2 separate regions of the Homo sapiens genome follow, and region 1 is linked to region 2. The links are contacts of gene promoters, found by promoter capture Hi-C in human tissues and cell types (Jung and others, 2019). All regions are on one chromosome and are shown on one strand. The core of a region is centred on a gene start or on the middle of the fragment in contact, and the rest is flanking DNA. Distances in the headings are between cores, read along the strand shown.

The links. Contacts are between HindIII fragments. The study calls those that stand out against the background at their distance.
Region 1: a fragment that was not itself captured here is called in contact with the fragment with the promoter of NANP in region 2 in 1 of the 25 tissues and cell types used here (lymphoblastoid cells).

What each region holds. Positions count from the first base shown.
Region 1 is chr20:24,836,861-24,841,729 of GRCh38, forward strand. No RefSeq gene overlaps it. Among named protein-coding and RNA genes, the nearest start is that of LINC02967, 79 kb to the right of the region's middle. The HindIII fragment of the contact is 4,719 bases long and covers 1-4,509 here.
Region 2 is chr20:25,621,830-25,626,708 of GRCh38, forward strand. NANP (N-acetylneuraminic acid phosphatase) reads right to left here and starts at 2,185. Exons shown (of 2, transcript NM_152667.3): 1 at 2,030-2,185. The coding sequence starts at 2,119. It overlaps ZNF337-AS1 (ZNF337 antisense RNA 1), which reads left to right and starts at 2,216. Exons shown (of 4, transcript NR_126465.1): 1 at 2,216-2,306. RefSeq lists enhancers at 1,458-2,133, 2,105-2,274 and a silencer at 1,875-1,934. The HindIII fragment of the contact is 13,881 bases long and covers 1-4,879 here.

The DNA of each region.
Region 1 (4,869 bases), core at 900-3,399, 790 kb before region 2:
TTAAACAACCAGATCTCGTGAGTACTCACTCACCATCACGAGAAGCAGCACAGAGAGGGAAATCTGCCCACGTGATCCAGTCACCTCCCACCAGGCCCACTTCCAACACTGGGGATGACAATGTGACAGGAGATTTGGGGGGACACAGATCCAAGCCCTATCAACTGGGAAAGAGCATTCCTTCTCCTTATCTGGTGGTTACCATGCACGGACATTGACGGCTGCAGCCCAGGAAGGGTCTGCCTGGAGCCAAGAGCCCATCACTCAACTGCGGGTCAGAGAGACTCGGGTCCTTGGCAGCACAGTCAAGCCCCAGGGCAAGGAGAGGTTAATGTAATCACTTCCCTTCCAGACAAAAGACAGAGTGGCTTTTCTTTTGTTTTACCTTAAGAAAAATTAAGATAGTTTAATTAGGACTAACTGGGAAAAGCAAGAGGAAAGTCAACAGTTTAATGAGGATTTCTGGAATCTGGACTACTGGCTTCTTTTCATGTTAGATAATAAATTATTTTCCCATTTAAGCCAATTTGAATGAACATTTTTAGTTAATTTGCACCCAAGTCACTCTGATTGAGGGTCAACTAATCTACCTCCTATTGCTAGGCAGAAGTTTCTCATCTCATCCCAGACAATGGGGACCTGCCTTCCCTTTAGAAGTCACTTTAAAATGGAACTACACAGTCGCCTTTTTAAACTGATTTAAAACTGATTCCAGTATTTAGTAAAACAACAGAAAACAACTCCTCTTCACACGTAGCCCACCTGCTGTTTAAAGCTCCCTTATTTCCTGATGTTAAGGTTCCCAGAGACAAGCGTGTGTTCCCTCTGTAGGCAGATTCTCCTACAGCTCAGAAGCCCATTTGGCTCAGCCATAAAACCCACCCTTGCTGCCACGAAGATGAGACTTTCCTTTGCTTATCCATCAGGTTTATGAAATTAAATAATTAAAACCTAAAGTTGTTGGAACTTTAGATTATTCTGATCCCTGACAGGAATGTGGCTTTGTGGCCTGAGTCACGCAGCACGCAGCTGTAGCTCTGGCTTCTTCCTGTAAGTGATTCAGAAAGACCTTGTGGCGCCAGAACTAAGACCCCTCAGATGGTCAACCCTGCTCATGGAATGCTAAAGCAATATTCCTTAGAATGTAGCAAGCTGCCACCGATCAAATCACTGCAACATATGTACAGGCCTTGCATGGAAGATGCTGGAATCCCCTAAACTTCTCTGTCTCTGTCTGTGTAAGTGAAGCCCTAACTCCCAACTTGTGGAGCCTTGACCCTGTTCCTTTGGAGTCTGTGTTTCCCAGGTGGCTAACCCTAAGCTTCCTGCTCAAATGAACTCAGCACTTAATCATGATTTCTGAATCTCATGATCTAAGGTTGACAGGTTGGTGCATTCTACCATGACTCGCTGTCATTGTTTTCAAGGAAATCTGCCTCTGCAACTATCACACTTCATTGAATTTAAGACGCTGTTGATATAACACCACTACTTTATATACTGCGAACAACAGAAATCCTCTGGCAGGAGAGCTGTGACATGCCATGAATTCTGCAATGTACTCCAATCTTGGAGAAGTTAAGATGTGTTTTTTTAAATGTGTATGTCTTAGAATCATTGAAAAAATGGTATTTTATTTTTGCACAGCAGTCGCAAAAATATCACAAAGGAAGAACATCAATGTTGGCAGCCTTTCCAATGGGCAAGGAAGCATCTCTCTGTGTAGCATCCCAGTAAACACACAAACACAGCTAAGGGAGATATCTCTGTGCTGGGAACCTCCTAGAATGTCTCCTCTCCTGGATTCCAGAAGGAGGTAAAGGGTGATTCACACCACATGGACTCTGGTTGTCTTCCTGAAGAAGGCTGGCCCTGCACAAGGGCACTCCCTTGGGATATGCCCCATGTTTTCATCCACAGTCACATGGACTCCTGTCATCTTCCTGAAGAAGCCAGGCTCTGCACAAGAGCACTGCCTTGGGTAATGCCCCATCTTTTCATCCACAGCCACCGCCCCATTGCCAACCATCTGCCTGAGCCCTGGTGAGGTGGATGGGCCCTACCTGGGACCTTTAGCCACTGGAGGTTTTAGAATGCCTCTTTGACATATTCTTTTCTGTGATTCTGTGTGTGAGGACATCCAGGAGCCAAGGTGGAGAACCCTGGATGGCCTTACAAGATGGCTATCTAGTTGTATGTTCCCCGCACTGGCCTCCCCTGAAACTTTCCCTGTACCACCAACCCACCCCTCCATCCATGGTGTGTGCATGTGCGTGTGTGCGCAGGCCCATGGTGGGCCAACAGCCCTGCCCCAGACATTGTCGGGTTCTTTGGGAGACTGAAGCCACAAGAGGTAACATGTGCAGCATTCAGTGGACAAGTTTCCTGCCACATGGAGAAAACTGGCTTCGGTGAGGCAGAAGAACAGAGCCAACATTAAAATAGAATGAGAAGACACACAGAGAGAAAGAGAGCCAATGGCATTTCCGTTTCTGTTTCCAGTTTTGACTCATTTAGTTGAAGCCTAGCCACATTCTCACACTTGGGTTCTGTAATACATTCCAGGATTCTTATAATAAAACCTGTGTTTTATTTCACTGGCTTCAATTAGGATGCCATCTCCCACAGCAAAAATGTCTAACAAGCATATCGACCATATTCCTGACCAGAGCAATGTATACAGCGCACTGATGGTGATGGTGCCAGCTTTAGGACCACGTGGAAAAAGCAGAGCAATTATTTCAAGAGTTGGGGATAAATAAAGGCAAAAAGTTAAAAAAGAGAGATATAAAGCAGAATTTGATTTAGGGGAAGTTTAGGAAAAAGACAAAACTCTGTAGTCAGGAAGAGTCTTGAGAGACCCAGCACTGGGCCACATAACATGGCTAAGCCCAGGGCCCAGGGGGACCAGACTCAGCGCCCACTCATGCCACTCTTGCAGGTCATCCTGCAGCCAGTACAGGGGTCTGACCTCCCACTTCAAGGGAACTGACCATGTTTCAATCAAATAATTGGTTTAGTAGAGAAAAGCCTGGACTGGTGTTGATGAGGCCCAGGTTATCAACTCCCTGGAGAACCCACAGTGATCTGGCTGAGCCTCTTTTTGCCCCTGTTCCTGAGCTGTTAAGTGAGAAGATTCAATGAGCTCCAAGGTATTTAATAGAAAACTGTTTTCAGTTAAACCCCAGCACATATAAATGTCAACATAGCTTATCTGTTGTAATAGACCTAGAAATCATAAAACAGGAATATTTCCTATGTAAACTGCCTGCAGTGAATGCTCTAGTTGGGACATGCTTGGGGCCCAGTGCAAACTCTTCCAGTGCAAACTCTTCCCAGACCCACCCCAGCCAATTATCCTTGGCCTCTCCTTCGGCACTCCTGTAAAATATTAGGACCCAGGGAACATGTAGGAAATGCCTGAGCCAGATGATCTTCGCAGTGGTTTCTTTCTGCCACATAAACTCTGGGCATGTCTGACTCCATCCATAGCCTCCCCATCTATCATTCTATCCTCACCCCAGACACATTCCTCTTTTTCTTTGGAAATGTGTCTCTCACCAGTCTTGTTTGAATGAGATGATCTGAAACATACGTGCAGAATCAAAAGTTAATAATAAAACCCTGTTTGTTAGGCACTCAGCCCTGGTTCCTGGGACCACAGAAACACTTGTTGATTTTCTCTTTTGAAATCACACACGGTGCAGCCACAGGAACCCAAGGCGAGCCACTCGCCAACTCAGAAGTGATCCCAATCGTCTAATGCTGCCTGGCCCCAGTGCTTCCTGGAGTACATGAAGCCCTCTGCATTGTCAGGATCTTGCATGAGTCTAGCGGGGAGAGGCAAAAATGAGCCTCTGCTGGAGAAATTGTCCTGCTGGTTTTGTTTAAAAGCAAGTGTGTTTGTCAGTTTGGGTTGGCTTAGTGGGGGATGGAGGATCCCTGTTTTTATTAATATTAAAGTTCCAGCTACCTAAATTTTTGTGCCTATTGTTTATTTTCTCCAAGAATCAAAATACAAGAATTAATAAATTAAAACCACAGTGAGATACCATCTCACACCAGTGAGAATGGCTATTATTAAAAAGTCAAAAATCAAAAGATGCTGGTGAGGCTGTGGAGAAAGGGGAGTGCCTATATGCTGTCGGTGGGAATGTAAATTTGTTCAGGCCCTGTGAAGAGCAGTTTGGAGATTTCTCAAAGAACATGAAACTCAGCTACTATTCAACTCAGCAATCCCATTACTGAGTATATATCCAAAAGAAAACAAATCATTCTACCAAAAAGACAAATGTATTCACATGTTCATCCCAGCACTATTCACAATAGCAAAGACATGGAATCCACCCAGATGACAGTCAATGGTGAATTTAATAAATAAAATGTGATACATATACCTCATAGAATACTACACAGCCATAAAAATGAACAAAATTATGTCCTTTGCAGCAACAGGGATGCAGCTAGAGGCCATTATCCCAAGCGAATTAGTGCAGGAACAGAAAACAAATACCGCACGTTCCCACTTATAAATGGGAGCTAAACATTGGGTACTCATGAACATAAAGATGGCAACAATAAACACTGGGGACTGATAGAGGAGGGAGGGAATTAGGGGAGCAAGAATTGAAAAACTAGCTTTTGGATACTATGCTCAGTACCTGGGTGATGGAATCAATCATACCCCAAACCTCAGGATCATGTACGATTCCCAGTAACAAACCTGCACACATACCACCTGAATTTAGAAGTTAAAATTGTGTTTTCTAAAATATATATATACATATTATATATATAAGCATTAATCAACTCATCCTTGGGAACCATTCTTGTGATTGGGCATTAACTTGCATCAATTGACAAATGAGG
Region 2 (4,879 bases), core at 935-3,434:
GGCGTGAGCCACCGCGCCCGGCCCATTCATAAATTATTTACAATGATTTGTAATTATAAAGGAGGCAGTAATAGAACCAAGTCTCGAAGTAAAAATTTGTATCCATCCATCCAGCATTTATTCAACATTTGCCATGTGTCAAACGAGGATAATTAAGACAGCTTGTTCCCTCCCAAGAAGCTCACTATTTAGTAGTAGGCACCTGAGTTGCAAAATTAATTGAAATATCCTTTGACAGATGCATTAAGAAATATCTGAACAAAATACAGCACTACTATAAGTGAGGGTGTAAAGACCAGGGAGGCATACGATTTAGTCTTTGTTTTAAAAATATTGCTGTGGCAAGAATGTGGAGGACACACTGGATGTGGTAAACCTGGAGACAAGCCCACAGCAACAGTCTAGGTGAGAGATGAGTTCAGCTGTAACTGAGACATGCACGGGGCATGTGCAGTGGTGGACAGACAGCGTACGAGGGTGGAAGGTGCTATAGTTCGCTGAGTGGACACTGCAACCATGGGCTTCCCAAGTATTACAGGGTTATTGAGGACTAATATAATTCACATTTTATGAAGATATAAGGCTCCGAGTGGTTAATTCCTTGAGGCACTTTCAGCTAGGTTTTGGGAGAGCTGTGATTCATATTCAAATGTCTGATTTTAAAGCCCAAACTCTGGGCCTACAGCAAGAATTGGCCTAAAGCAATAATTTAATTGAAATGCACAGGACTCAGCTTACTAATAACACACAGGTAAATATGTAACATCTGCAGCGAGAGATACTGGAGGCAATATGGCACAGGGTGGCACCCCTGAGGTGGAGGCCAACAAGTTAAAAGTGTGGAATGCCTCAGTAAAGTCATGAAGACAGACTTTAAAAATGTCTACTGATTCCGGCATTTTGGGAATGCCTAGTGATCCAGCAAGTCTATTTCAGTCTAGCGGTGAAGATAAAGCGACATTACGATGGATTTAGTAATAAATAGGAGGTAGAGACAAGGAGATAACGGGTATAGATTTCTCCGGGAAAACATGGCTGTCAAGAGAGACAGGCAACATCTACAGCAGGAAGAATAGCCCAAAGGGAGGCATCCTTTTTACAGCTTTTTTAAAACTATAGGGCAAACATGAATATGCGGCAGGAGTGGAATGCAGCTAAAAAGAAAACGGATGAGGTAGTGGAAGATCCAGGGACACAAAAACTAACTGATGAAGCATGAAGAGGACGGGGCGCTCAGGTTTGGATGAATTAGCTTTTGAAAGTGAGTTTTCCACATCTGATAAATCCTTCCCTTTCCCCTTGAAGCTGAAGGTAGAGAAAGGGAAGCCGGGGTGGACTGGGGCTGGAACACGGGAAGGTCTGAAAGCGCCTCCGCGCGTGTAGAGGGGCAGTGCCGCGGAGGAGCGCCTCAGGAAGGGCATGCCCTCGCAGCACGGGCTTTTGCTGTGTCACGTGTCAGAAAGCCACGGTGACCACCACCCCGCCAGGGAGGCCAGAAGAAGTTCTGCGGCGACAATTCTCTAAAGCAGGGCTTAAGTCCAGGCTCGGTACTGACAGCCGTGTCCCTTCTTGGGTCAACACTGGGGCTAACTCTACCATGTCTCCTCCCAGCAACCCCGAAAGTCGCATGGGGGACACGACCCTCTGTCGAGCTCCACACCGACAGTCTGACCGGGGGCGGGACCAGCGCCTGGTCTCGCGGCTTTGCTGTCGCCTCCCGCGCCCACGGGCACCTCCGCCACCGTGGCAGCCGTCACGGAGCCCTTCCGCGTCCCGAGCGCCAAGGCACCTGCGAGCAGCCGCTCCAGGGCTCGAGATTGGGTGACAAGCGGCCGCCAGGCCAGGGAAAGCAGACCCGCAGGGCCCGCGCGCCTCCAGCCACCTCCGCACCCGCACGCTCCACAGGTTTCAACCAGCAAGAGCGGCCCGCGGCGCCGGGGTGGAAGTGGGGTCAAGGGGAGGTGAGCGTGCAGGACGGGGCGGGGCGCACTGACCCCGCCCAGAGGAGCGCCATGGGTGGGGACGTTACCTCCAACATGCCTCTCCTGCTCGCCCCGGCCGTGTCGATGAGAGTGTTGTCCAAGTCAAAGAAAACCGCCCGCACGCGGCTCAGCCCCATAGCGCCGGCCGCTGGCGCGAACCGTAGCCTTGCCACCGCCGCCTGCGCATGCGCAAGGCGGACTGCCCAGAGAGACGTGGGAGGAGCCGCGAAGTCACCAGACCATCTCCCGGCGCGGGTGGAATTCCCGCGATCTGTCTCATTCCCTGCGCCGCCGAGAAAAGTGAGATCCCGCGAGACTCCCAGGGTATGGTCTCTCAAGAGCCCTGGAAACGTGTGTCGGCGCCGCCGGATGCGGCGACTTCTCAGTGGCTGTGGCTGGCGTTGGTCCGAAGCGTGGTGTTCTTCCCTGGTGTCTTTCTGCTTATCTCTTTCCTCCCTGGGCCCTCCGGCGCGAGGGACCGTCATCACCTCCCCGAGAGAGGTTGTCCGCGCTGCCAGGCGCTGGGCAGCAGGCTCTCCGGGTGGCCGGGCGGGCGGCGCGGAGACGTCGGCGGGCCTGATGTCTGCCTTGAGCGCCCGCGGTCCTAGCCTGCCTGTACGCGCAGGTCACTGTAGGTGATCTGGGGACGGGGGAAGGTGGAGCCTGCGCCTTCCCGCCTCGCGCCATTTGCGGCCTTCGCCGGGGTGGAATCCCTGTCTGCCTGGGCCCGCGCCAGCACGTTTCTGAAGGATGTGACTTGGGTCTCTTACAACCCGTTTAGTACCTGTGCCCTAAGACGGAGGGGCTGTGTAGTGGCTGCCCCATGTTTTGCCCTTCCTGATTGTTTTCCTGAAACCTTGCGTTCTCAGGTCTTTGGATGCCTTTTACTCGGTTGTTTTCAGGCATAGCAAGAGGTTGAGGGACGTCGACCGCCTTTTAAACCCGCGGAAGGGCTGTAGCAACTCTTGTCTCCTAGTGCTGGCAGAACGGGGATCGTAACACTAATCTCTAATCTTTGTCTCTCTTGGGTACCTTTACTGTAATTTGGATATGTGGTCATCATTAGTGACCAGAAATTGACTGTCAGGTACAGGCCAATTACCTGATTTTGTTTAGCCAGTGAGCTAAGTGGTTTTTTTTATTTTTTAATTTATTTTTATTTTTATTTTCGAGATGGAGTCTTGCTCTGTCACCCAGTCTGGCGTGTAGTGGCACGATCTTGGCTCACTGCAACCTCCGCCTCCCGGGTTCAAGCAATTCTCCGGCTTCAGCCTCCTGAGTAGCTGGGATTACAGGCGCATGCCACCACCCCCCGGCTAATTTTTGTATTTTTAGTAGAGACGGAGTTTCACCATGTTGGCCAGGCTGGTTCTCGAACTCCTGACTTCGTGATCCACCCGTCTTGGCCTCCCAAAGAGCTGGGATTACAGGCGTGAGCCACCGCGCCTGGCTAAGGGTGATTTTTACATTTGTAAATGGATTTAAAAAATCAAAATAACAGTGTTTTGTTACACATGAAAATCAAGAAATTTTAGTGCCCATAGTTGCATTAGAACACAGCGCACACATTCATTTCTGTATCGTCTGTGGCTGCTGTTGCCATACAGAAGCAGACAGAGTTGAGTAATTGTAAGCGAGACCACGTGGCTGGAAATCCTAAAATATTCATTATTTAGCTCTTTAGAGAAAAAAATTGCCAGTCTCTCACCTCGCTGGTGGAACTCCTTAACAGACCACTGATGTTCAGTAGGTTAGATTAATTGGTTTATCTTTATATTAATAGGAGTTTCTTCTGCAGCGTTAGACTACCTACAGTTTCTATATTTTATGGAGCACAATCACAGTTGACATCTCATTGCTATGGTGGAGAATAAACCCATAGGCATTCCTCAAAACCATGACTCCTTTCTGTGCTTACCTCATTGACGTATAGGGCTAGCCTATCAATTGTGGACATTTAGATTAGCAATCAGCCAAAATTATGGTGAATTAATTGGAGTTACTTTTAATTGCCTGAAATGTCAGAATCAATTTAGCATAAAACTATAGGCACAGGAAGCTTATAGGATTGGAGCAGCTTTTTTTTTTTTTTTCTGACTTGCATGCAGAGTTTGTTGTTTGCTGATTTAGGCAAAAATCTAAGGTTAGATGAGGCATAGCAGTCTGTATAATCCTTTTAAGGGGATGCGTTGTTTGATAGATTTCCTTTTGTGACAAGTCGTCTAATGGCATTCCATGACCTGTCCAACTTTGTGTAGAGCACCCTATTCTGTTGCTGTTCATAAAAATCTGAATCTGTTGTCCCACACATAGCACCAATTGAAAATAAAAAACAGGAGAGGGAGGATTAAAATTGGCCTATACCGCCTCCTCCAATTGCAGAAACATCGGTGCTGCCTCCTTCGGTAGTAGAAATAGAAACCCCAACACAAAGAATTTTACGCTCTGCTGTCATAGCTGGAGAGCCCTTAGGACCTTGCGCTTTTCCTGTTTCCATAAGGCCTGATCCAAATAATCCATAGTAGGTAATTCATGAACACACTCCACAGGAATTTAAGTTGTTGAAGGAATTAAAAACTAGTGTGGTCAATAATGGAGTACAAAGCCCATGGTTCCCAGAGGAAGGAATTCTAGACATAGAACTCTGGGAACAAGTGGGGAGAAACCTTAAACAACATCAGGCGCAAAGGCATCAGGTCCCAGTAAAATCTTTAATGTTATGGGCTTTAATTTGAGCAGCCCTGGCTCAGTTACACACAGAAGATCCTAAAAAGAGGAAGGAGAAGAAAACATCACCTGCCTTATCACCTCCTCTTCCCTCAGCCCCAATATCACTGGGCCAAAATAACAAAGAGGAAACAGAGGTCTTACCTAAGCCGCCTCCTCCTATAGATAGG